7 separate regions of the Homo sapiens genome follow, and all the other regions are linked to region 4. Evidence: promoter capture Hi-C in 16 types of primary human blood cells and fetal thymus (Javierre and others, 2016). All regions are on one chromosome and are shown on one strand. The core of a region is centred on a gene start or on the middle of the fragment in contact, and the rest is flanking DNA. Distances in the headings are between cores, read along the strand shown. Region 1 has its middle 17 kb from the start of FBLN7. Region 2 has its middle 17 kb from the start of RGPD8. Region 3 overlaps TMEM87B (transmembrane protein 87B). Region 4 holds the start of ZC3H6 (zinc finger CCCH-type containing 6). Region 5 has its middle 3.3 kb from the start of TMEM87B. Region 6 overlaps TTL (tubulin tyrosine ligase). Region 7 overlaps TMEM87B (transmembrane protein 87B).

The links. Contacts are between HindIII fragments. The CHiCAGO score rates a contact against its expected background, and 5 or more counts as called.
Region 1: a fragment that was not itself captured here is called in contact with the fragment with the promoter of ZC3H6 in region 4 in 7 of 17 cell types (activated CD4 T cells, naive CD4 T cells, total CD4 T cells and 4 more); the score reaches 12.6 in activated CD4 T cells.
Region 2: a contact is called between a fragment that was not itself captured here and the fragment with the promoter of ZC3H6 in region 4, in 4 of 17 cell types (total CD4 T cells, non-activated CD4 T cells, naive CD8 T cells and 1 more). The highest score is 6.9, in total CD4 T cells.
Region 3: a fragment that was not itself captured here is called in contact with the fragment with the promoter of ZC3H6 in region 4 in 3 of 17 cell types (total B cells, activated CD4 T cells and naive CD4 T cells); the score reaches 5.6 in total B cells.
Region 5: a fragment that was not itself captured here is called in contact with the fragment with the promoter of ZC3H6 in region 4 in 3 of 17 cell types (total B cells, fetal thymus and megakaryocytes); the score reaches 6.4 in total B cells.
Region 6: a contact is called between a fragment that was not itself captured here and the fragment with the promoter of ZC3H6 in region 4, in 1 of 17 cell types (erythroblasts). The highest score is 5.8, in erythroblasts.
Region 7: a contact is called between a fragment that was not itself captured here and the fragment with the promoter of ZC3H6 in region 4, in 3 of 17 cell types (activated CD4 T cells, non-activated CD4 T cells and total CD4 T cells). The highest score is 7.6, in activated CD4 T cells.

What each region holds. Positions count from the first base shown.
Region 1 is chr2:112,119,701-112,123,409 of GRCh38, reverse strand. No RefSeq gene overlaps it. Among named protein-coding and RNA genes, the nearest start is that of FBLN7, 17 kb to the left of the region's middle. The HindIII fragment of the contact is 9,145 bases long and covers 1-3,709 here.
Region 2 is chr2:112,449,227-112,452,745 of GRCh38, reverse strand. No RefSeq gene overlaps it. Among named protein-coding and RNA genes, the nearest start is that of RGPD8, 17 kb to the right of the region's middle. The HindIII fragment of the contact is 707 bases long and covers 1,031-1,737 here.
Region 3 is chr2:112,083,884-112,087,580 of GRCh38, reverse strand. TMEM87B (transmembrane protein 87B) reads right to left here. Exons shown (of 19, transcript NM_032824.3): 9 at 1,477-1,576. Among named protein-coding and RNA genes, the nearest start is that of TMEM87B, 30 kb to the right of the region's middle. RefSeq lists an enhancer at 121-210. The HindIII fragment of the contact is 2,093 bases long and covers 1,163-3,255 here.
Region 4 is chr2:112,274,347-112,277,980 of GRCh38, reverse strand. ZC3H6 (zinc finger CCCH-type containing 6) reads right to left here and starts at 2,384. Exons shown (of 12, transcript NM_198581.3): 1 at 1,955-2,384. The coding sequence starts at 1,986. RefSeq lists a silencer at 1,615-2,094 and enhancers at 2,285-2,494, 2,110-2,682. The HindIII fragment of the contact is 12,828 bases long and covers 735-3,634 here.
Region 5 is chr2:112,050,087-112,053,868 of GRCh38, reverse strand. No RefSeq gene overlaps it. Among named protein-coding and RNA genes, the nearest start is that of TMEM87B, 3.3 kb to the left of the region's middle. The HindIII fragment of the contact is 755 bases long and covers 1,993-2,747 here.
Region 6 is chr2:112,514,367-112,517,909 of GRCh38, reverse strand. All of the region lies in intron 5 of TTL (tubulin tyrosine ligase), which reads right to left. Among named protein-coding and RNA genes, the nearest start is that of POLR1B, 26 kb to the left of the region's middle. The HindIII fragment of the contact is 1,945 bases long and covers 975-2,919 here.
Region 7 is chr2:112,100,232-112,104,157 of GRCh38, reverse strand. It overlaps TMEM87B (transmembrane protein 87B), which reads right to left. Exons shown (of 19, transcript NM_032824.3): 15 at 3,463-3,536. Among named protein-coding and RNA genes, the nearest start is that of FBLN7, 36 kb to the left of the region's middle. The HindIII fragment of the contact is 2,744 bases long and covers 43-2,786 here.

The sequences.
Region 1 (3,709 bases), core at 503-3,002, 150 kb after region 4:
TCTTCATTCTATCTTCTTTTTGTTCCTCACACTGAATAATCTCAATTGACCTATATTCAGATTCACTGATTTTCTTCTACCTGCTCAGATCTGCTCTTGAGCACCCTCTAATAAATGTTTTGTCTCAGTTATTGTACTTTTCAATATAAGAATTTTCATTTGGTTCATTTTTATCATTGCTATCTCTATTGACATTATTTGGTCAAACATCATTCTCATACTTTTGCATTTATACTTTTTTAGCTCATTGAATACTTACAAAACAGCTTACAGTTTTTGTCTAGTAAGTCAAACATCTGGTCTTTCTCAGGAACATTTTGTTTTGATGCTCTTTTTTTTCTTGTGAGAGATACACTGTCATTTCTTTGCTTATGTCATAATTTTTTGGTAAATACTAGACATTTTAAATAATATAATGTGGTAACTCTGAAAACCAGTTCCTTCCCCTTCAATGGTTTGCTGTTGTTACTACTTGTTGTAGTAGTTGTTTAGTGAGTTCTCTAAACTAATTCCGTAAAGTCTGTATATTTTGTGATATGTGGTCACTGAAGTCTCTACTCAGTTATGTAATGGTTAGACAATTATTGGACAGAGACTTTCTTAACCTCTCGGAACCAGTAAATCTCCCAGTCTTTGCCGAGGTGCTTGTGTGTATGGTGGGGCACACCTTCAGCACTCATTCAGGCAGTTTACAACTAACTCTGCCTTAGCCTTCACTTCTTGTTTGTGGTCTTTGCTGAGCATGCAGAGCCCTATGCATGCATGTGACCTTTTAGATTCCTGTAAGTATGTTGAAGGTTTTTCAAAGGCCTTATGGTCATCTCATTCTTTAGACTTTCCTTTTAAGGTTTTTGGTCAGTCTGTTGTTTGCTTTGAATGTTATTTTTTGCTTTAGGCAGCTGTGACATTAAAAAACATGCCTGTGAATATTTTTAATAAGTATCCCCTGGAAAGAGGCATTTAGCACTGGGAAAGCTGTGACTCAGGTCAAATAAAGACAAGCCTTTCCAGCAGACTCCACTGAACCCCAAGAAAATCTCCACTTATCAAATGAAGAAACAGAGAACTGGAATTATGACCATGTAGAAACAAGAATTTGGAAGCTGAAAAGACAATGAAGTCATATGAAATGACGTAGCAAGTGGTCACCAAAGTATATAAAATGTATTTCAAGTTTTGATGCCCAGTCCAACCCTTCTGTGGCATCTCTTTCCCCCTGACAATAAGGACCAGAGGTGAGAAAAACAAACTAGGAGGCAGTCTTCAACCCTGGTCTGAGGGAACTGTAGCCAGTGACACTTTCCTGGTCCTCCATTTCCTCATTTGTAAGATGATCTTAGAGGCTCTTTCCAGCTTTAAAGTTTTAAAATATACCAAAATAACTGTTTTTCCAGGGCAGTGCTGTGTGAATTATTTTTAAGTTTTTTTCTTCATCCCCAAATTTGTTTAGTGGCATTTGGTAAGTAAATTTATAAAATCTGTAAAGGGAAGAATTAGAGAAAAGAAAAAAAGATTAGAACTCTTCAAGAGACATTACTTTGGCACCACCTGCTGGATAGCTTTCACATTTTTTCCTGTGCATAAACTTCCATTGCAGCTTCTTGTTTTTTCAAAATGATTTTAAGGAAATACTGTCAAAATTATTTACATCTGAAATCAGATATAAATCAGGTCAGCCTCTGACCAGATGTAAATATCAGGTCACCTCTGTTAATGTAGCTGTACATTCCCTATCACTTAAGGGGCATAAAACTTGCTCTGGGTAACTTCATCTTAATACAAGTGAATCAATCCTGGAATGTGTTTGAATTTCATATGCCATTTGTTTCAATTGAGTCTCAGTCACCCCTCAATCATTGCTGTACCTTTCACATTAACCTTAGCTGCCTCCTGAAGGCTATGCACCAGGCACTTTAGATACATTGTCTTACTTAACCTTCTCTAACAAGCAAACAGCACTTTGTTAACCGAAACTCCTCTCTCCTCAGGACTTCGAGGACAACCCTTCTAGGATGATTCCCACCAGTATTATACCAGCCTTGCCACCTGCCAGGATGGTAAACTATCAAATTATTTAACCTCTCTCTCAGTTTTCTAATCTATGAACCAAGGGAACTAATACTTCATTGGCTACTGTGAGAATACAGTGGTTACCAAAGCCTGGCACTCTGCAAGTGCTCCCAAGTCTGCCAAAATGGTCATCAGTCTTATGACAACAGCCCTTCCTTTCCCTCTGGGACTATCCATCTTGTCCCTCTCACTCCTCACATGTCAAAGGTGGGAGAATGTCCATGAAGAAAATTCTCCATGTCCCATCTACTTACAGCAAGATGGATTTTTTAAATTAATTAAGATTAAGCTGTGAACCAAGACACACTTTTCTAGATTTTCTGATACATAGTCTAAGGCACTATTATTATTATTATTATTATTATTATTATTATTATTATTGAGAGTCTCGCTCTGTCGCCCAGGCTGGAGTGCAGTGGCACAATCTCGGCTCACTGCAAGCTCCGCCTCCCAGATTCACGCCATTCTCCTGCCTTAGCCTCCCGAGTAGCTGGGACTACAGGTGCCTGCCACCATGCCCAGCTAATTTTTTTCTATCTTTAGTAGAGATGCGGTTTCACTGTGTTAGCCAGAATGGTATCGATCTCCTGACCTCGTGACCCACCCATCTCGGCCTCCCAAAGTGCTGGGATTACAGGTGTGAGCCACTGCGCCTGGCCAAGGCACTATTATTTTTACATATTTATGTTGAATATGTTTCTTAGAAAATTAGGGGTAAAAATTAGGCCCTAGGGTATGGTGGGTCCGCAAGATGGAAATAAACCCCGGGTGTCTGAGGGACATGTGGAGGAGGGTGGCCCTTCCCACCTCTATACCTACTGAAGAATTGTCACATGAGCAAGAAATAAACTTTTTGTCTTAAGTTTCTGAAAGGCTAAAATCAAGTTGTGACCACAGCCTGGCTGAGCCTCAACACTAACCATGTATGCCACCCCAGTGCTTTTCCACTCAATCCTTTCTCTACTTTTTTTTTTTTTTTTTTTTTGAGACGGAGTCTCGCTCTGTCGCCCAGGCTGGAGTGCAGTGGCCCAATCTCAGCTCACTGCAAGCTCTGCCTCCCGGGTTCACGCCATTCTCCTGCCTCAGCCTCCCGAGTAGCTGGGACTACAGGCGCCCGCCACCACGCCCGGCTAATTTTTTGTATTTTTTTTTTAGTAGAGACAGGGTTTCACCATGTTGGCCAGGATGGTCTCGATCTCCTGACCTTGTGATCCACCCACCTTGGCCTCCCAAAGTGCTGGGATTACAGGCGTGAGCCACTACGCCCGGCCTTTTTTTTTTTAAATTATCTTTATTTCAAAATAATAATTAATTATGTAATTATTTATGTAATTAAGAATTATGTAATTACTTAATTCTGTAACTTTACAGAAAAGTTGGAAGATAGAATGCATTTTTTCTGAACCATGAGAGTAAGTTGCTCTACCTTATTTTTACATAGATAAGCATTCACATATGTGCCACTGCATCACAGTTCTTATAAGTATTTTTATTATAAATTCTTCATAATTTAATGGCTATACAATATCTCATAAAGTAGCTGGTTAAACCATAATTCACTTAACTATGATATTGTTTGTCTCTAATTTTATTTCTACTTTAATATTATAATAAACACTTTTGTGGAGAAACTTTATTC
Region 2 (3,519 bases), core at 135-2,634, 180 kb before region 4:
GTTAATTCAAGGAGCCAAATTCTTTTTTGTTTTCGTAGCCATCCCTTAGGGTGTTACCTGCATAGTCTCACTATACCTATGTTCCAGCCCATGGTATGAGAGAAAAATGGGGGAGAGAAACAAAATCCTTTTTAAGGGCATAACCCCAAAGTCACATGACTTTATTCCATATGTGTGCCTTTAGTCAGAATGTAGTCACACTACCAATCTAGCTAAAAAGGAGTCCAGAGAACGTAATCTCTGACAGGTTGGCCTATTCTTAGATAAAACTAATGGGAAGAAGAGAAATGGACACAGGAAGTTGGTAATGAGCCTTCAAGATGGCCCCCAATAATCCCTGACACCTAGTATTTACAATCTTGTGTAGTCCCCTCCCATGTTACACTAAGTTTAATCTGTGTGTCCAACATCATAGGCAAGAGTGATAGCATGTCACGTCTGAGAATAGATTACAAAAAGACGACAGCCAGTCTTGAGATCTCTCTCTGACCACTTGCTCTGGGGGAAGCCAGTTGCTATGTTGTGAGGTAGCCCTGTGGAGAAACCTATATGGAAAGAACTGAGTGTCTGGCCTCCCAACAACCATACAGTGAGCTTGGAAGTGGATTCTCCAGCCTCAGTCAGGCCTTGAGATGTTGCAGCTCAGGCGGATAGCTTGACTACACCCTCGTGAGACACTCTGAGCCAGAACCACCCAGCTAAGCTGCAGGTGGATTCCTGATCCTCAGAAACTGAGGTAATAAATGCTTGTTATTTTAAGCTGCTATGTTTGAGGGTAATTATTACACACTCTGTTGCTGCATAACGAATTGCTCCAGAGCTTAGTGGCTTAAAACCCCTACGTTTATTAGCTCATAGATTCTTTGAGTCAGGAATCTGGACATAACGTAGCTGGATCCTTGGGCTCTGGTTGCAGTCAAGGTGTCAGCAGGGCTGCAGTTACCTTCAGGCTTGATTAGGGATAGATCAGCTTCCAAGCACTCTCACATGGTTGTTGGCCAGTTTCTACATGGGTTATTAGACTAAAGCTTCAATTCCTCAAAAGCTGTTGGCTGGAAGCCTCTCTTGGTTCCTTACTACATAGGCTTTTCCATTGGGCAGTTTACAACATGCCTGCTGGCCTCACTACAGTGAGCAAGAAAGAGGGTAAGAGATGGTAAGCAAGAAAAAAGCCACAGTCTTTTGTAACTTAATCTTTGAAGTAATATTGTCAGAGGTGTTTGAACCAGAGCGACTCCATATTGAATAGGGGCTGGGTAAAATTAGGCTGAGACCTATTGGGGTGCATTCCCAGGAGGTTAGGCATTCTTAGTCATAGGATGACATAGGAGATCAGCACAAAGTACAAAGACCTTGCTGATAAAACAGTTTGCAGTAAAGAAGCCAGCCAAAACCTACCAAACCCAAGATGGCAATGAAAGTGACCTCTGGTCATTCTCACTGCTCGTTATCCACGAATTATAATGCGTTAGCATGCTAGAAGACATTCCCATCAGTGCCATGACAGTTTACAAATGCCTTAGCAATGTCTGGAAGTTACCCTGCATGGTCTAAAAAGGGGAGGAAACCTCAGTTCTGGGAATTGTCCTCCCCTTTCCTGGAAAACTCATGAATAATCCACCCCTTGTTTAGCATATAATCAAGAAAGAACCGTAAGTGTTCTTAGTCGAGCAGCCCACACCACTGCTCTGCCTATGGAGTAGCCATTCTTTTATTCCTTTACTTTCTTAATAAGCTTGCTGTCACTTTACTCTATGAATTCACTTTGAACTCTTTTTTTGTGTGAGATCCAAGAACCTTCTCTTGGGGTCTGGATCGGGACCCCTTTCCAGTAATAATATTCCATCACTTTTTCCATATTCTATTCATGAAAAGCAAGCAACAGGTCCAGGCCACACTTAAGGGGAGGGGATTACACAAGAGGTTGAATACCAGGAAGTGGAGATCACTGGAGACCATCCTAGGAAGCTGCCTACCATAGTCTGCTCTCTGGTCCCCAGTGATTCACATCCCTCCCTCATGGCAAATACATCTACAACTCTCCAAGAGTCCCCAGAGCCTCACCTCATAACATCAGCTCTAAGTCCAGAATCCCATCATCTAAATCAGGTCCAGGTATGGTTGAGATACATCAGGTGTAGTTCCCCAAGTACAGCTCCTTAAGCACAGTTCCAATTGATCTGTGGATTTCTGAAGCTAAAGAGACGAGATACCTGCCCACCTCCCACACCCAATGTATTAGTCTGTTCTCATGCTGCTAATAAAGACATACCTGAGACTGGGTAATTTACAAAGGAAAGACGTTTAATTGACTCACAGTTCCACAGGGCTGGGGAGGCCTTACAATCATGGTGGAAGGCAAGCGGGGGGAGTAAATCCACGTCTTAAATGGTGACAGACAAAGAGAGAATGAGAGCCAAGTGAAAGGGGAAACCCGTTATAAAACCGTCAGATCTCATGTGACTTATTCACTACCACCAGAACAGCATAGGGGAAATTGCCCCCATGATTCAATTATCTCCCACTGGGTCCCTCTCACAACATATAGGTATTACGGGAGCTACAATTCAAGACAAGATTTGCTTGGGAAAATAGCCAAACCATATCACCCAATATACGATGGTGGGACAGGCACAAGATAATCTCTACACACAAAAAAGGGGCAAATAGGAGGCACACAGGTGTTACTGGTCCATAGCAATTCTGAAATCCAAATTTTAGAACTCAGTCTCATTCCTGCTAAAAATAATTCTCCATGGCTCTTGGCTCCATCCTCTGGACTCCTTATTTTTGCCCTCTGAATCATCCTTTTTTTTTGGAGACACAGTCTCACTCTGTCACCCAGGCTGGAGTGTAGTGGCGCAATCTCGGGCTCACTGCAACCTCCACCTCCCGGGTTCGAGTGATTCTCCTGCCTCAGCATCCCGAGTAGCTGGGACTACAGGCTCCCACCACCATGCCTGGGTGATTTTTGTATTTTTAGTAGAGACGGGGTTTCACCATGTTGGCCAGGCTGGTCTTGAGCTCTTGACCTCAAGCGATCTGCCCTCTTCAGCCTCCCAAAGTGCTGGGATTACAGGTGTGAGCCACTGTGCCCGGACTTTTTTTTTTTTTTTTTAAAGAAAAGGTAGCATCTGTTTTCTCAGCCTGCTTCCTGCTAGAATTTTGGAGGTCCAACAATTCCTTTTTATGTTGTACTGGGTCTGCCTTTTCCACTCCAAACTGACACACAGATTTCTCAGGAAATTTGTGGGTCTTTTTGTTTGCTTGCATAATGTGTTAACTACATTAGACGAAACCCTACAAATCTCTCTGGATAAACCCTTCACTATCTTGAGCTTCTGCTGAGAGGCTGAGGAAAAATACTCTTAAGCTCCCTAGAGGTTTAATTGTTTGAGACAATCTGAGAGCAACACCTTTAATCTCTTTAAAGGGACCTTTGTGTGACTGAATATGACTGTGATCCTTTGGTCTCTCTGAGATTTTAACATTAGATTGTATATACATAGAAATAGGTAA
Region 3 (3,697 bases), core at 960-3,459, 190 kb after region 4:
GGGCACAAAGGCAGGGGTGGCCCGTGACTATCAAGAAGAGGAAAGTGGTTCATGCGGTCCAGATGTGGGGGAAATGACAGGGTCTGGGGGCACAGATGCAGTGGAATTCCCCTCTGATGGCTTCTACTTCCTCAGTGAAAAAAAAACCGAAGGTCAGGGTAGAGTCTGAGAGAAAGGGGTAAAATGGTCTTCTGCAGACAGGAGAGTGAGAAAATAGTGGCAAGGGGATTGAGTACAACTGCCAGCAGCACTGAGGGTGCACGTGAAGTTTAGGGTCATGAATGGCAAGTAGGCCCCCTCAGTGTGGTCCAGGGCTCTTTTTGGGCAAATTCCCCTGCTCGGGTGGGAGCCTGAGGCAGAAGGAAAGCTGGACTTAGCAAGGCTGGGGTTTTGTCAAGAAGGTTGACAAAGAGAAAGGCAGGGGTCTTTGGGTGTCAATGTCCTGCTGGACCAGGGAATCCAAGCAAAAGGAAGAAGGTAAGGATATAAGATGGGGAGGGACAACGGAAGGTGCCAGGGTCAAAAGGCTGGAGGCCAAAGTATAGTCGAAAAAGACTGACACCGACATGTTAAAGAAAGTAACAGGAAACAGAGGAGGTTGACAGTTGAAAAGTGGATTGCTTAAAATTGAGATTTTGAAGAGGGTGCAGTTATATATATAATAAAGTCTAGAAAATGATACTGGGAATCAGTAGCTGAAACATGGTGATGGGCAAGAGCAGGAGAGGTGGGGAGGTGAGGTCAGGTTACTTAAAGGGTCATGCACATGGCTCCTGAGACCCCATGGCCTTCTGACAGATGAAATGCTGAGGACGACACCTGTGAAGCCAGTGCCCACAGAGCTGAGGAATGAGGGAGGGTCTGGAAGCTCACAGTGACCACAACAAGATGCAGCAGGTGACCCAGCCTGAAGAGTGAGCTTCTGGGAATCAGGGTTTTAGGAAAGAAGCAGGAAGAAAGGTCTGAAAAAACACAACAAGGATAGAAATCAAGTTCTCCCATAGTTATGCCCAGTGATTCACAGGTGAGAGGAGGAAAAGACCCGCCGGAGAAGGTCCAGAAGCAGAGTCCTTGAGGGACAGACAGGTTTCAGTCAGAAGTTTTGCTGACTTGGTGTTTAATCCACTCTCTCTTCCAACACTCAGATAGGACCATAAAAGCTTAATGATACTGTCTAAATAACAGAAAAGGGTTTGAAAATGGTTTGAATTATTTTAGATTTTCCATTATCCTTAAAGTTGATTATTTATTCATCTAACTATATAAAGTTATTGAAATAAAAATTCAGGGTCTTTATTGGAAGATAACATAAAATAGCAAGTATGTGGAAATCTTTTAAAAATGTGTTCTTGTAGATTTTTCCCAAAGGGATTTGTACTACAATACTTAGAAGTTCCATTTTCACAAAGGTCATAATGTAGACGGACTGAATCACTGGGCTGGGACCCAGCATTTTTCCCACACGCCAGTACTTACTTCACAATGCCATAGCCCAGGCTCACAATGATCACGAGAAGGCGAGCCAACGTCCTCTTAATCGCAGAAATCAACTCCGCAAATATCAATAAGCCTTGGGCTGAGGAAGAAAAAAATAAAATAATTCACTTTGTCTACACCTGGAAGCCTGCCAACCAAGATTCTCAACAACATGTCCTGTGTATAACTACATTCGAACTTCAGACCAATCAGCCACATTTGATTTAAAAGTCACTGAATCCAACTGATGCTTGAAAACTTCAGTGAAGGATTCATACTCGCCTCAAGAATTCACTCCCTATCTATCTAATCTGCTCCACTGGGCACAGCTTTCTTCTATCAGCCCGAACACTGTCTCCCTGAGCTTCCCTCTGTTCTTGCTCTTTACAGAACTCTCTCTTCTTGTCCTGTAAATATTTAAAAACCACAACATCCTCTAGAGTTCTCTTTTCTCCAGGATCTCCTCATCATGTATTCATTTAAAATGTATCTGATATGCTCCTACTGTGTGGCTATAATAGTGAAAAAGACATCTTGATCCCTGCCTTCATGGAGCTTGTACTCTGGTTAGGCTAAGTAAATAGAACTCAGTGTGGTAAGAGCAAGAGGTAACACATCATCCCTCCAGACTTGGAAGAAGGCCAGTCTAATCTACACCTGGGGGAACTAGAATTGGGTCCTGAAAAACTCAGAAAAAGTGACATCTAAATCAGGACTTGAAGGCTAAGTAGGAGTTAAGTATTTGGGGGTGGGGGATGACAAAGCAAAGAACACGGCACGTGCAAAGGCACAGAGAAGAAAAGAGGAAAAGCAAACTATGCTGCAAGAAGTCAAAGTTCATTATGCCTGCAGCAGAGAGTGTAATGGTAGATGTCAAGAAAAGAGGCTGGTCATAAAGGCAGGGACCAATCATGCAGTTTGGAGCCCCTGTCATGGAGTCTGGACTCGATGTTAAGGGCAGTGGGAAGTCAATAACAATAAACAAAAGAACAAAGGAGGGATTGGTAAACTATGGCCCATGGGCCAAATCTGGCCCTACATCTGATCTGTTTTTGAACATAAAGTTTTATGGGAACACAGCAATGCTCATTTGTTTGCATGTTGTCTATGGCTGCTTTTATGCTTTGATGGCAAGGGTGAATAGTTACAACAGAGACCATATGGCCTGCAAAGCCAAAATATTTCCTCTATGGCCTTGACAGAAAAAATGTGCTGACTGCTGGAATAAAATGGATGGCTTTATTTTATCAAGATTGCTCTACCTACAATGGTTTGGAGAGGAACAAAACTGCAGGCAAGGAAAATGCTCAGGAGACTATTCCAGAAAACTAAGAGATGATGAGAGTACCGGCAGTGATCACAGAGAGAAGCAGAAAGATTCAGAAAGATATTCAGAAAATATGGTGGCAAAACCAGTTGTGAATCCATCTGATGTTTTCAGTTCACACTGTTTTCAGCTCCATCTTGCCTGCAAGAACTCACAAGAGACCTTGTCAAATGCCTCGAAGATAGATCTAGAACTACAGGCAGAGCAAGAAGCCAAGAAAGATGTGAAAGATGGTCCTGAGGTCTCCTGGCAGTATCATGCAGCGAGAGGAACACCTGGAAGGGCAGCAAGTGTGGGCTGGGGCGAGACCGCCACACAAAGGCAGAAAGGATGAGCTCCCTTTTTGCCATTCAGAGGTTGAGAAGATTGCAAGGCATTGAGAAGCTGTTTTGTAGGTGACTGGATATATATGTCTGTAGCTCAGGATAGAGAGTTCCACAGGAGAGAAAGCTTTAGGAGGAAAACAATGGATGAGCTCTCCGAAAGAGTGCAGAATGTAAAGAAGGGGTTTATCATCACAAATGTTGAGGGATGAGTGTGCTGTCAATCCCTCCATGGGCTGTCTATACTCCTCTTGAGGTAATGTGACTACAACGTTTCTGGTACAGTGTGGCCTGTACAGCAAGATTCTCAACTTTCCTTCCAGGCTCCTGCTGCAATCTGAGGTTGTGGGAGCTTGTGGGAGGCAACTACCCTATTATTGCCTATGTTGAGTTTGCTTTTCATCAGCTTCAATTTTTAAATTCTTTTTAAAACTTTTCCATTGGTATTTTTGCAATTTGTACTCCAAACCTAAGTTCAAGATCATCAGATTTCACCTTTCTATTCAGCATGTCAACTCTCTTGCCTCTCATCACATATCTTCAAGTGAAAAGGGTCTATCTAAAATGATTC
Region 4 (3,634 bases), core at 1,135-3,634:
TTAGAACTCTTAAAACCCAGGCTGAGGTCCAGACCAACAGAAATAGCGCCAATACTTTAAAGAAAAAAAGTTCCCCAGGGAAGGTTTAGAACCATTGATCTGATCTTGTAGAATTTCTCCTGACTTCTAGTTCACTTTGTTTTTGATGTAGTTGTTTTGTTTTTCATGTGGGTTGACAAAAAAAGCATGAAAAAAAAAAACCATCTCCTTCATCTCAGCACAATGATGCCACTTAACAATTGGCTAAGTTAAAGTGGAGCTAACCTTTTTGTTTCAGAAATCACTAGAAAATACTTTTAGTCCGAATTTTAAATAAAATAGACTAATCTTAATCTTTAGCTCCTACTACCAACCTATTAACATATCTTACAAATAATTCTTTAAAGTTTTCTAACCTCTAAACCAGTATTTTAAAATTTCAAATTCTTTAAAAGGTCTGTCATCACAGTTCCTTACCAGCAAAATTATTTTGATACTTGAATTTGATGGCATTGTTTTTTCATGATGTACAATACATAACTCCATATATAGAAGTTACTTTGTGCACTAAGAGAGGGGAACAGATATTCTTCCATATTAAAAAAAAAAAGGATTTTAGGCTCCATTAGCAAAACCCCATCATTGGTTTGTCCATACCTCAAGAGCAAGGTATTAGTCAACCCATTCTAAGAATTTCCTTTTTAATACAAAAGATAACGTTAAAAAAATCATTAAAAATGTGCCAAGTGCAAGCTTATCATTTTTAAAAGTGCATTTTACTTTCCAAAAATTTTTACACTTTGATTGACGTGCCCTCTGGGAATCTACTTTTATTATTACAATACTGAAGTTGTTGAAATACCATTTTTATCCCTCTCAAGATTGCTAGGTATTTAGATATTTCAAATTTCAGCAGTGTTTGTGATTTTTGCTTCTGGGTTTTAAAAAACGTGTTTAGGATGCTTTACCAAGCCGATCACATTACTACAGATAAAACTTCAGCAATGTATATAGTCTATAGTAAAACGTATATTTTTTCTTACTTCTATTCACAAAGGAGTAATTGTGAGGTTCTAGATTTTCAAATTAATATTCTAAGTAAGAATCAGATGCAATGGATTTTGTTTCAGTAAGTTTAATGAATGAAAGCCCCCCTTTCGCATTATTAAAGATATATACGAATGAAAATTTGAATTATAACCAAAATTTAAGTATGCTACAGTATACTTTGTAAATGTCCCCAAACTCGAATGGAAACAAGAATGTGCCTCTTAAGGCACAGAGCAAAAAATAAAAAATCAGAATCTCAATATTCAAGTGATACACACCATCTAGAAAATTGGGCTAGCCGGAATAATCCATGGAGTTTTTACGTTAGGGTAAAACTGTGCTAAACTAAGTTTCTGCAAAGCCTAAGTATTTTGTGTTAACATATTAAACTTGAAACTTGCCATCTCAAATTCCAAGGGATAAGACTGTATACAACAGATGGCCTTTTGGTGCTGCTTAAAACTTCCCTGAAAACCAAATGTTTATTTTTTTAGAGGTGTTCTCGGTTCTCGGGAAGCAGTCAAATATCAAAACACCCATTCCTGAAAATTCCTGGCTGGTCCTATCTGGCCGGGAGCACCGACACCTGGACGGGCAGAAGCAGGACCTCAGCACCGAGCCGGGACGCTGAGAGCCGCCCGGCGCACACGGAGCCCGCCCGGGGGGCGGGGGGCTCGCACGTGCCCGGCCGGGGGCGGGGCCGGCGCTGGCGAGCAGCGACCCCGGCTCGGGGAGGCGGGCGCGGCCGGGCCGACCTCCCCCGCGGCCGCGATCCAGCAGTTTACATAAGAGTGCGCGTCATGGAACTGACGGAGCCACACAGAGACGTCTAGGTCATGCAGGAGGCGCCCGGCCCCGGCCCGCTCCCGCCGCCCCAGACCCCTCCTCTCATCCGACAGAAAGACAGACAAGAAGGGTTCCCGACCTGTCGTGCCCTGCATGTTCAGAGTCTGTCATGTTTGGTCAAGAACGGGGCGGGGCTGGAGGGCAGGTCTGCGAGGCCGGCGGCGGCGGGGCGCGGGGAAGACCCCCCGCGCCGCCTGCGGGAACCTGCTCCCGGCCGCCGCCGACAGGTGACGAAGTGGTAAAAACTCACGGTTACTAGTGAGCGACACAGACACAGACTTTCCAGTCTATTAACAACCACGCCAGAGAGATGGGGCTCTAACTGCAAACACTGGGCAACGGCCCCGCGCTGCCGGCGCTGCCGCTCTAGTCTCTATTCGCCGCCGGTGGCTGTGGCGTGGGAGCGGGCGGGCGGCGTGCAGCGACGCGGGGATTTGGACAGTGGCCGTAACGGTGATTTCTCCTCACCAACATGGCGGCACCCGAAACAGGCGGCTCGAGAAAATGGCGCCGGCCGCAACACCTTGCCCGGGACTAAAGGGCAAGAGAGATTCCTCCGCGAGCCGCGGCCCTTGCCCAGCCCGCCGGGGCCGAGCGCGTTGACCATTGGAGGAGAGTGCCCGTCAATCACCTGCAGGGGCGGGTCTTCGCCCTTCTCTGTGCAGCGGCGGAGGCGGCAGCCTAGTGGCGGGGCCGGGCGGCGAGAGACGCGGCCGGATGGCTCCTCGAGTGTCTGCAGGAGGGGGAGGCAGCCCACGGGACCTACGAGGGCCACCAGCGCTTCTGCTCCCGGCGCAGTACGGGCCGCGGTTTTTCCTGCGAGACGCCCGCCGCCCGAGGAGTTCCAGACGCACCAAGCAAACGGGCCCCAAAACCGTTAGCCGAGGCGGGCAGGGGTGGGATAACAAAGAACAAGGCGGCTGTAGAGTCCTTAAATTTTTTTGTGAAAACCTTTGTTCTTGTAATAATAGGGAAATGCAGTTTCTCCTTCACAGTTGTAGCAAGTATCTGTTTTTGTAACGTTTAGTGTTCAGAATCATGTTTTAAGGAAAATAGCTTGCCATGCAGTTTTTTCTTGTATTTGCTGTTAAATTTACCCAATTATTACTTAAATAGGAATAGCTATTGAAATAATTATATAAACGTTACTTTATTTCGTAATAATATTAACATGTAAAATGTATGCGAGTATTTTATAAATACTATTAGGCATGCCTTTTTTTTTTTTTTTTTTTTTTTTTTTTTTTTTTTTTTCTGAGATGGAGTCTCCTCTGTCGCCCAGGCTGGAGTGCAGTGTCGCGCTCTCGGCTCACTGCAACCTCTGCCTCCTGGGTTCAAGCAATTTTCCTGCCTCAGCCTCCCGAGTAGCTGGGACTGCAGGCACGCGCCACCACGCCTGGCTAATTTTTGTATTTTTAGTAGAGATGGGGTTTCCCCATTTTGGCCAGGCTGGTCTCGAACTCCTGACTTCAGGTGATCCGCCCTCCTGGGTCTCCCAAAGTGCTGGGGTTACAGCCGTGAGCCACCGCGCCCGACCATGCATGAGTTTTTTATACTTATGAAGTGACCTTAAAAAATTTTTAAATGACAAGTCAGTGTTTTGGCCTATTTAATATATTAGTCCTGAAGGAAAGTTCCTTGCTTTTTACTAAAATGATAGACTCAATGATTAATCCAAATATCTGACTTAATTTGTCTTTCCTTAATAATACATTTTACTAATACATAAATGGAATGCATTCAAAAACAATTGCAATGA
Region 5 (3,782 bases), core at 1,121-3,620, 220 kb after region 4:
AAGAGAATTAGTTCATTCATTATCAAATGTAAATAATATCCAGCAAGGGAATAGAATCCTGTGCTAATATTGTTATTAACGTAGAATAAGATCGATTTATAGTCCAAAGGCCTTGGCTGCTTTACCAGTCACCAGTAATTATTGAGGACCTACTATACACTAGAGATTGCATGTGCATCTTCCCAGTAAGCAACGTGATCAGTTCTGTTTAGGTCAGAATAACTGTAACAGGACCACAGGGGAACATCCACCAGAGATTTAGGAAGTAAGTGAGGGACAGAAGGAGAGAACAATACATGAAATTTAAGTTCTACAAGAAGAGTTAAGGGCGAGTTACCTGTGGGAGTGAGGGGTAAGTCTGAAATCGTTTTAGTTACGAGAGAACTGGAGGAATGGAAAGATCTTCCAGATGACTGGATGTTGGTGTGAGACGGAGAGTGGCAAAGCTGGGAATATTTAAACAGTACCAAAACATACAGGCATTCCTAAATTAAGTTAGGCAGATGGCACCTTTAGTTAAGAACACTGGAGAGGCAATGATTTTTTGTTTTGTTTTGTTTTTGAGACTGAGTCGCGCTCTGTCGCCCAGGCTGGAGTGCACTGGCGCGAACTCGGCTCACTGCAAGCTCCGCTTTCCTGGTTCACGCCATTCTCCTGCCTCAGCCTCCTGAGTAGCTGGGATTACAGGCGCCAGCCACCACGCCAGGCTAATTTTTTTATATTTTTTAGTAGAGACTGGGTTTCACCGTGTTAGCCAGGATGGTCTCGATCTCTTGACCTCATGATCCGCCTGCCTCGGCCTCCCAAAGTGCTGGGATTACAGGCGTGAGCCACCGCGCCCGGCCCCAATGATGGTTTTTAAGTAAGGATGAGCTGATCAGAAAGATCGTGTTGGTTGTCAAATTGGGAAACAGGAGCATAGGAGAGCCAGGGTGACACCATTTTAAAAATAACTCCATCTTAAAACTAGCAAGGTACATTTCTTGCCAGTCACCACCCATGGTCGTAAGATGTTTACAGTGGCTGGGCACGCCTGTAATCCCAGCACTTTGGGAGGTCAAGGCGGGTGGATAGTTTGAGCTCAGGAGTTTGAGACCAGCCTGGACAACATGGCGAAATCCTGTCTCTACACGAAATACAAAAATTAGCCAGGTGTGGTGGCGTGCCTGTGGTTCTGGCTACTCAAAGAAGCTGAGGCGGGAGGATCACTTGGGCCTGGGAGGCGAAAGTTGCAGTGAGCCCTGCACTCCAGCCTGTGTGACAGAGTCAGAACCTGTCACAAACAAAAAAAAGAAAGAAAGAGAAAGAAAGCAAGAAAAGGAAAAAAAAAAAAGGAAAATGAGGAAGGTTAGAATGAACTATAATGCTGGCTTGCAACTGATGATATCAGTGTGAACTCATTTTTAAAATTTAGTTTTATAAATAGATGTAGATATGTGTGTGTGTGTGTGTGTTTATATTTTCTTGCACTGATTCCCAGGAGGACCTAGAAGCAGCGACACCCCAGTAGCAATAGGTACATCTAGCACCAGATCTTGCTTTATAAATATCATTCTCCACTAAAATAAACCAGGGATCCTTGGAGAAGTGGCTGAGCCCAGGAATGGAATAGAGAAATTCATGATGAACTTGAGAATCTTGTTTTGCCAGAAAGTAAGGAAGTGGGTAAAAAATTATGAGGACACGTCAAAAAGGCATAGGAGCCAGTTTGAAGGAGCTCCCTTCCACTTACCAGATCTGGGACAATTTGGTCACCAAAATGATAGTAGTGGATTGTAACTCATTGACTCAAATAGGAATCCATGAGTCTATACTAACATAAATAAATAAATGATTACATAAATAGGAAAGAAAATCACTTTCTTACAGTTGGAAAACTAATAAATGCAGAAGGAATAACAAATTTAAAATATCACCATTTGGCAACTATCACAATTAAAATTGATTCAGAAAGAATCATCAATTCTATTCTAAAGTTAGTTGGCAAAAGCTTCATGAGGAAATATCTTCCAAAAATTACTTATTAATTACAAAGAGAAAAACAGTAATTATACAGTGGAGATACCTGGCAGACACCAACTTAATGATCAAGGTTAATCCCACAAGGATTGGGACAAACAGACATGATATGTATCATGATTTGATTAACTGAAAAGAAACAGCATGACTTCTGTGATATTCCTGCCAAAAATGCATGCCCAAAATGCAAAAATGCATCTAATCAAGCTATTCAAGGAAATGAGGAAAAAATTCACATACTTAAATCTAATCACAAGGAAACATCAGACAACCCAAATTGAAAGACATTCTACAAAGTAACTAGCTGGTATAATTTACCAAAAAAAAAAAAAAAAAAAAAATATATATATATATATATATATATATATATATATATATATATATGCCAGGTTCTTGAAACAGCTGAGGAAGTTAGAGGTTAAAGGAGACCCAAGAGACATGATAACTAAATGTGACATATAGGCCTAGCAGTCTGGAGCCTACACCAGAAAAATTGTTTTTGCTATTAAAATTCTTTAGACAATTGGTGAAATTTGAACAAGGACTTTAAGAAAATGGTATTGTCAATGTGAATTTCCTGAATGTGAAAATGGCACCGTTATCACACTAAGAGAAGGTCCTCTTTCTAGAGAAAAGCACACTGAAGTATTTAAAGGTAAGCGGGCACCACATCTGAACTTATTCTTTGGTGGTTACAAAAAACTTTTTATATATTATATATATAAGCTTTATATATGTATAACATGTATACCATCTCTATCTATCTATCAAGATAATCTAATAAAACCAATTTGAATGAAGAGTATGCAGGAGTTCTTTGTATTCTTCTTGCAACTTTTCTTTGAGTCTGAAATCATTTCAAAAGAAAAATTTCCAAAACTAAGAAAGAAGGGGGTAATCACTCTGTGGTTCTCCCTGTATATATGTTAATAAAATTTATATGCCTTTCTAAGAAGGAGGAGGAGGAAGGAAGAAGGAAGGGAGTATCTCACACCTCTCACATCCCATATAGGGATCCAACTTGGTGTCCTCCACAGCAGATGGAAAATTTATGATTACTTGGTAAAAATAGATTGATAGTCAACTGATTGCCAGAGTGCTTTACTCATTCTCTTTTGAGTCTTATGGGATTTAGAAAAACAAACAAACAAACAAACAAAACAGCTACCATATAATTTTTAATTTGAAAAATTAAATCCTGGAGCAAACAAAAATTGTCCAAAGAACAAATAAGGAAAAATTTGGCAATAGTTGACTGTAAGCTAGAACTGAAAGGCCCCCATCAATAGACCAGTCCTTCCTCTAGTGGAGTTTATTGCAGCTGTTATAAAACTGAATCACAGTTCAGAGGTTGCTGTGCAGGGAAATGAAAAGGCATTTGAGAACACGAAGTATCATGAGATCCTGAATTCAGTGCTATTAATGAGAGACTTTGGGGTATGGCTAACACCAAAAATGAATAGATGCTATTTTTGCATAAAAAGCTGTACATTTGATTCATTGCTTTTAATTAAAATATTGGATTGTATGAGAAATTTTGAGAGTATCATATAAAGCACCTTTTCCACATACTTCCATTTGCCTTCATTTAACTTTTTCTTCCCTAAATCAAAACTGATTTTAGTTTTGAGTTGAGGCTTATGGATATGTAAACATAAAGGTTGTTTTTCTGATATTTCCTCTTCATGTGCAACTTATATATCACATAAATTGTAGGGACCAGCCCCACAGGGTCAGTGGGTCTCTCCCCGTGTGTGGAGATG
Region 6 (3,543 bases), core at 698-3,197, 240 kb before region 4:
GGCCCAATCATGGCTCACTGCAGTCAGCCTTGACCTCCCCGAGCTCAAGCGATCCTCCCAATTCAGGCTTCCGAAGTAGCTGGGACTACAAGCATGCACCACCACACCCTGCTAATTTTTTTTGTAACTTTTGGAGACAGAGGTTTGTCATGTTGCCCAGGCTGGTCTTGAACTCCTGGGCTGAAGTGATCTGCCTGCCTCAGCCTCCCAAAGTGCTGGGATTAGAGGCATGAGCCACCGTACTTAGCCTGTTTTAATTAGAATATTCTTTAAAATATTATAATTAAGGAAGATTTAAAAGTTTAACAGATGCTTATGGTAAAAAAGAGAGAGAGAAAAAAATACTAAAATATAAAATGGGGGCTGGACACAGTGGCTCATGCCCGTAATCCCAGCACTTTGGGAGGCTGAGGGAGGCAGATCACTTGAGGTCAGGAGTTCAAAACCAGCCTAGCCAACATGGTGAAACCTCATCTCTACTAAACATACAAAAAATTAGCACTGAGTGGTGGCACATGCCTGTAATCCCAGCTAGTCGGGAGGCTAAGGCAGGAGAATCGCTCAAACCCGGGAGGCAGAGGTTGAAATGAGATGAGATTGCGCCACTGCACTTCAGCCTGGGTGACAGACCAAGACTCTGTCTCAAAAAAATAAGATAAAATAAAATTGAAAGAAGTATTACATTCCAACATAAAGAAAAACCTGAGAATCAGAAGCAAATCAAAACTAATTTTTTTTTTTTTTTTTTTTTTTGCTGAAAGCTCAAGATTAATAATACACTTTAAAGGATTTTTATCCCTCATCAGAGACTTATACAGTGCATCTTTTTTTGGCTGGAGTGGGAAGTTAGGGGGAGGCTAGCTGGAAGGAAAGAAAACCTGAGAGCTGCTGGGAGCATTTATAGCACCACAGCAGCAACACTCTGAACAGCAATGAACAATGCGGAAAGGATGCCGCAAACTTCCAATAAAGCTTTTGCCTAAAATAGGAATTCTTTTTCCAGCATATTTGATTTATCTGGTGTCAGAATTCCAACCACCTATATTCCCTGAAGAAATGGGACTCCAAGCCCTGTAATTATTCTACTGGGCTCTACGTGAGAATACAGTAAGGAAAAAGTCTCAGTCATTGTGACAGGGTAGCATTGACATGGTGGATGGTAGAACAATGGGACAGAATGGAGATCCTAGAACAGACGCTCACATAAATGGCCACCTGATTGATTGATTGATTTCTGAGATGGAATCTTGCTCTGTTGCTCAGGCTGGAGTGCAGTGATGCGATCTTGGCTCACTGCAACCTCCACCTCCCGGGTTCAAGCAATTCTCCTGCCTCAGCCTCCCAAGTAGCTGGGATTACAGGCATATGCCACCATGCCTGGCTAATTTTTGTATTTTTAGTAGAGACAGGGTTTCACCATATTGGCCAGGCTGGTCTTGAACTCCTGACCTTGTGATCCACCCACCTTGGTCTCCCAAAGTGCTAGGATTACAGGTGTGAGCCACTGTGCCCAGCCAGCCACCTGATTTGTAACAAAGACACACCACAATGCAGCGGGGAAAGGACAAGTGGCCCTGGGTCAATGGGATATCCTTGTGGAAAGACATGAAACTTGATATATAACAACTTCAGATAGATTATAGTTCTAAAATATAAGAGATAAAACCCAGATGTCTACCAACTACAGAAGGAATAAACTGAAATACTTATACAATGGAATATTACACAGTAATAAAAAGGATAAACTACTGTTATGTGCAATAACATGGATGAATGCCACAGATGTAACACTGGGAAAAGCTGAACATAAAACAGGAAATATGGTATAATTCCATTTACATAAAGTTTAAGAACAAGCAAAATGAATCTAAGGTGATAAAAGTCAGAAAAGTGGCTGTCTTTGGCAGGGCATTTATTTATTTATTTATTTATTTATTTATTTATTTATTTATTTATTTATTCTGAGATGGAGTCTCGCTGTGTCGCCCAGGCTGGAGTGCAGTGGTGTGATCTTGGGTCACTGCAAGCTCCACCTCCGGGGTTCAAGCGAATCTCCTTCCTCAGCCTCCTGAGTAACTGGGACTACAGGTGCCCACCACCACGCCTGGCTAATTTTTGTATTTCTTAGTAGAGACGAGGTTTCACCGTGTTAGCCAGGATGATCTCAATCTCCTGACCTCGTGATCTGCCTGCCTCGGCCTCCCAAAGTGCTGGGATTACAGGCGTGAGCCGTCGCACCTGGCCTGGCAGGGAATACATGTTTTGAGGGAGTTCAAAGGAGTCTTCTGGGATGCTGTAAATGTTTTATATTTTTATGTATATCACAGCTAGGTGAGTACATGCATAACTGAAAACTCACCAGACTGTACACTTTGTGGATGTTACACCTCATTTAAAAAATCTTTACTAGACTTAGTAAACTGTAGTAAGTGAACACTAATGCTAAAATACTACTTCCAGGCATATTTAGAAATAAGACCAAGAGAAAAAAGAGACAATAGAAACAGACCTAAAAGTCAGGAGCTGACAAACTTTTTCTATAAAGGGCCAGACAGTAAATATATTAGGTTTTACAGGATATGTACCACCTCTGTTGCATATTCTCATTTTTACAATCTTTAATATATAAAAAACATTCTTTGCCCACAGACCTTACAAAAACAAGCTACAGGCCATATGCAGCCCATACACAGGGCATACTCTGGATTACTCTGCCATGGGTAATCTAGATTTTGGAGTTATCAGATAAGGATGTTAAAGAATTGCCATTATCTTCAAGAAAATATGAGGCAAGTGGGAGAATTTCATAAGACAACTATAATATGAAAAAAAGAAACAAATATAAATTTCAGAACTAAAAAGCACGCTAACTAAAATCAAGAACTCAATAGGTGAGTTTAACAGCAGCTTTTAAAAGCTTTTACCTTGTAAAAATTGTTAACAGGTTTTAATAGATAAAGAAAGGATTAGCAAACAAAGATGTCAGACGAAAAGAATGAGTACAACCATGGGGAGATAAAATGATACAAAAATGCCATAAAAGTGTGAGAAACAGTGAAAAGCATTAACAATCATGTAATTAGAGACCTAGAAGAAGAGGAGAATGGATCAAAAGACACAACTGAAAGTATAATGTCCATGAATATTCCAAAACTGGTAAAAGATATCAAGCCACGGTGCAAGAAGCACTATGAACCCAAATGCAGGAATATGTACAAAGAAAACTACACACATCTCATAGTAAAATTTATAAAAACCAATGTAAAGGAATCTCAAAAATAGAGAAGAGATACATTAAGAGCAATACTAAGATTTCACCTGACTTCTCAGCAGAAAAGATGGAAGCCAGAATACAATGGTATGCAACCTTCAGAGTAGGAAAAGAAATTAACTGCTTATCTAGAAATCTATGTCCAGAGCAAATGTCCTTAAAAACAAAAAGACAAAATATATTTTCAGACAAATAATAACTAATTTATCACAGCAGACTTTACTTAAAAACTACTAAAAATTAGTTTTTTTTTTTTTGAAACAGAGTCTTGC
Region 7 (3,926 bases), core at 165-2,664, 170 kb after region 4:
AATATTTTCCTTTTTTCTTCTAGAAGAATAACAGTTGAAGCTTTTCCATTAGGTCTGTGATCCATCTTGAATTGATTGTGAGATGTGCAACAAAAGTCTAATGATTTTTTTTCCTACACATTTATCCAGTTGTTCCAGTACCATTTATTAAAAAGACTATCCTCTCTTCATGTAAGCCTTGGTGCCTTTGTCAAAAATCAACTGACCACACATGCATGGGTTTATTCCTGGACTCTATTTTACTACCTTGATGGATTTCTCTATCCTTATGCCAATACCACACTGTCTGGATTGCTGTAATCTGAAATAATTATGTCTTGAAATCAGTATAAATCCACTAATTTTATTTTATTGAGAGATAATTCGCATACCATATTGAAGTACAGTTAGATTTTGAGATATTCACAGAGATTTGAGATATTCACCACTCTCCAATTTTGGAAAATTTTCATCACCCCACAAAGAAACCCCAAACCCATTAGCAGTCAGTCCTTACTTTCCCCCTCCTCTAACCTGTGACAAGCACTGATCTACTTTCCGCCTCTACGGACTTGTCTGTTCTGGACCTTTCATATAAACAAAATTATACAGTATGTGGTCTTTTGTGATTGGCTTCTTTCACTTAACATAATGTTTTCAAGGTTCATCCATGTTGTAACTACAAGAATGTTAAGGATCTTCTACGTCTTTTGCTTTTCCATATACATTTTAGAATCAACTTAACCACTGTATTTTTTTTTAAGTCAGCTAGAATTATAATTGGGATTGCACTGAATCTATTTATCAGACTGGGAAACTGAGAGCTTAATACTGAGAGTTCCAATTCAGACACAGGTTCTATCTCTACATTTACTTATTCTAAAATTTATCTCTGCATTGTTTTATAGTCTTCATTGCAGAGGTTTTACGTATTTTTCATTAAACTTATTCCAAGTATTTTATTTTTGAAGGTATGGTAAATAACATTTTAAACTTCACCTTCAATTGTTTTCAGTTAATATGTAGAAAAACAACTGACTTCTGTACATTGGACATATACCCTATGACTGTCACAGTCACTTAGTTCTACCGTACTTTTTCTTTTCTTTAGACTCCTTGGGATTTTTCCATACATAACCATGTTGCCTGCGAATAAACACAGTTTTACTTCCTCCTTTCCACATGTTCTTTCTTTCACATTCTTTGGAGTTTTGTTTTGCTTCTCTGCACTAGGTAGGACCTCCCATACAATGCAGAATCAAAGTGGTATGTACATACCCTTGCACTTTATCCCTAATCTTGAGAAGAAAGTGTTCACTATTTCACCATTAAATAGAATTTTAACTGTGGAGTGTTTTCATACCATTTTAGAATTAGTTTGCTGAGGCTTTTGTTATTTGTACCCACTGAGATACTTTTGTCATTTTTTTCTTCTTTCTTCTTTTATTTGTACTATTTTATTTTTATTTTTATTTATTTATTTATGTTTTTGAGACAGAGTCTTGTTCTGTTGTCCAGGCTGGCGTGCAGTGGCTTGGCTCACTGCAAACTCTGCCTCCTGGGTTCATGCAATTCTCCCGTCTCTGCCTCCTAAGTAGCTGGGATTACAGGCACACACCACCACGCCCGGCTAATTTTTGTATTTTTAGTCAAGAGGGGGTTTTGCCATGTTGGCCAGGCTGGTCTCGAACTCCTGACCTCAGGTGATCTGCCTGCCTCAGTCTCCCAAACTGCTGGGATTACAGGCATGAGCCACCGCACCCAGCCTTATTTGTACTATTTTAATATGATGAATTATACTGAGTGATTTTCGGAATGTTAAAACAGCCTTGCAACCCTGGGATAAAGTCCACTTGATCATGATTGTCTTTCTATATTTTGCTAGATTTTATTTGCTAATATTTTTAAAGAATTTTTGTATGCCCACTCATTAATGATATATTGGTCTATAAGTGGTCTATAATTTTTGGTCTATAATTTTTTCTTGTAACGTCTGTTAGACTTTGGCATTTCAATTGTACTGGCCTTTTAAGTACTCCCACCTCCTTTACCTTCTAAAGATTTTGTGTAAAATTAGAATATTTCTTCCATTTCTTCCTTAAGTATTTGAAAGGACTCACTAGTGAATCATTTGGGCCTGGTACTTCATAGGAAGATTTTAAATTAAAAAAATTTTTTTTAAATTTCTAATAGATCAGAGCTATTCAGACTTAGTGGCACAGGGTTAGAATTAAAATTGGGTTGTTATATGTATTTTTCAATGAACTTGTATTTTTCAATGAACTTGTCTGCCTCATCCAGATTGCCCAATTTGTTACCATAAAATTGTTCATAATATTTCCTTATTTACCTTTTTTACCATAGTAATGTCCTCTCTATCATTTCCAACATTAGAAGTTTGTCTTACTGTACTACAGTTGACTTTTGAATAATATGGGTTTGAACTGCTCAGGTCCACCTACATGCAAGTTTTTTTCAATAAAAGTTACACCACATATGTCTGCCTTTGCTGCCTCCCCTTTCCTTCTACCTAATAACATTTTCTTTGCTCCACCTACTTTATTGTAAGAATACAGTATAAAATACATATAATACACAAAATATGTGATAACTATGTTAACAGTAAGGCTTCTGGTCAACAGTTGACTATCAGTAGTTAAGTTCTGGGAGAGTCAAAAGTTATAAGTAGATTTTCAACTGCTCAGGAGTTTGGTGCCCCTAACCCTACATTGTTCAAGGGTCCACTGTAGTTTTTTCTTTATTTCTGGTTTAGAGTAGCTAGAGGTTAAGCCACTTTTCACTAAGCTTTTCAAAGTAATTACTTTTAGATTTGATGATTTTTTTCTATTTGTTTTCCTGTTTTCTATTTCATCGATGTATTAGAGAACCAAAACAGAAGGTGAAAAAGAATGTTACTAAGAGAAGCAAAAGTAAGAGGACAAAAAAATGAAACAAAGATAAAATTACCCTCAACATCTGAGTTACTTATTGATGTTGCCTTAACAGATGCTTAATTAGATTACAATAAAATTAATAAAATGATAAAATGCTATGTAGAAAATAACAGAAAGAATGAAAATATCATTAAAACTTTAAGTAGAAATGCTTTCAGCATGATCAGAAATTACAGGTGTGCATACTTTAAAAAGAGCAAGAAGATGCAACTCAAAGAAACTTAGCAATCATCAAGATGAACATTATTTAGCAGCTAAGCACAATATACATCAAACCATTCTTATGAAAAACAGTGTAACTATTTCAACATTTTACGAAATGAGTAACAAGCTCAAACTACAATAGTCTTGAAAATTTCATCACTGACCTTTCTGTTACTGTCTACCAAAATAAGGTTTCTGAAGATAAAAGTTTTTAAAATATTTTATAGAAAAAAACAATATATGTGACCTTGCATCACGGGTAAAGGTACAATATTTCTGTTGCAATATGTACAATGGTCATTTAAAAAGAAAACATATTACTCACTTAAATTTTCAGAAGTTACCATGAATTCCTCAATTTCATCATCAGAATCATCTATTAAGGGCATGAAGGCATATCTATAGCAAAAACAAGGAGTAGTTTTACTAGTATGTTTAAACTTGTTCAATTTTCAGTTTATATCTAAAAGCCATTGTATAAAAAATCTACATTTAAAAAATTTCTTATACTTTAAAATAATGAAAACGTAATTATTTTACTTTCAAATTAGCTAAAATTATCATTAAGAAATTGTGAAACTGGAGCTCTCAAACCCTGTTTGTAAAAGCATAAGTGGGTAAAATCTTTCTGCAAAGCAATTTTGCAATATTTAATGTTGAGGGAAGGGAACTTTCTGCTGTTTCTTTCTCCATGTCAGGTTTACCTCTCTGCCCACCACTTGTCAGTTTATTTCCTAAAAAAAGAAAAGTTGCTAATCTGATTGGTGAAAATAAAGCCCACTGAATGGG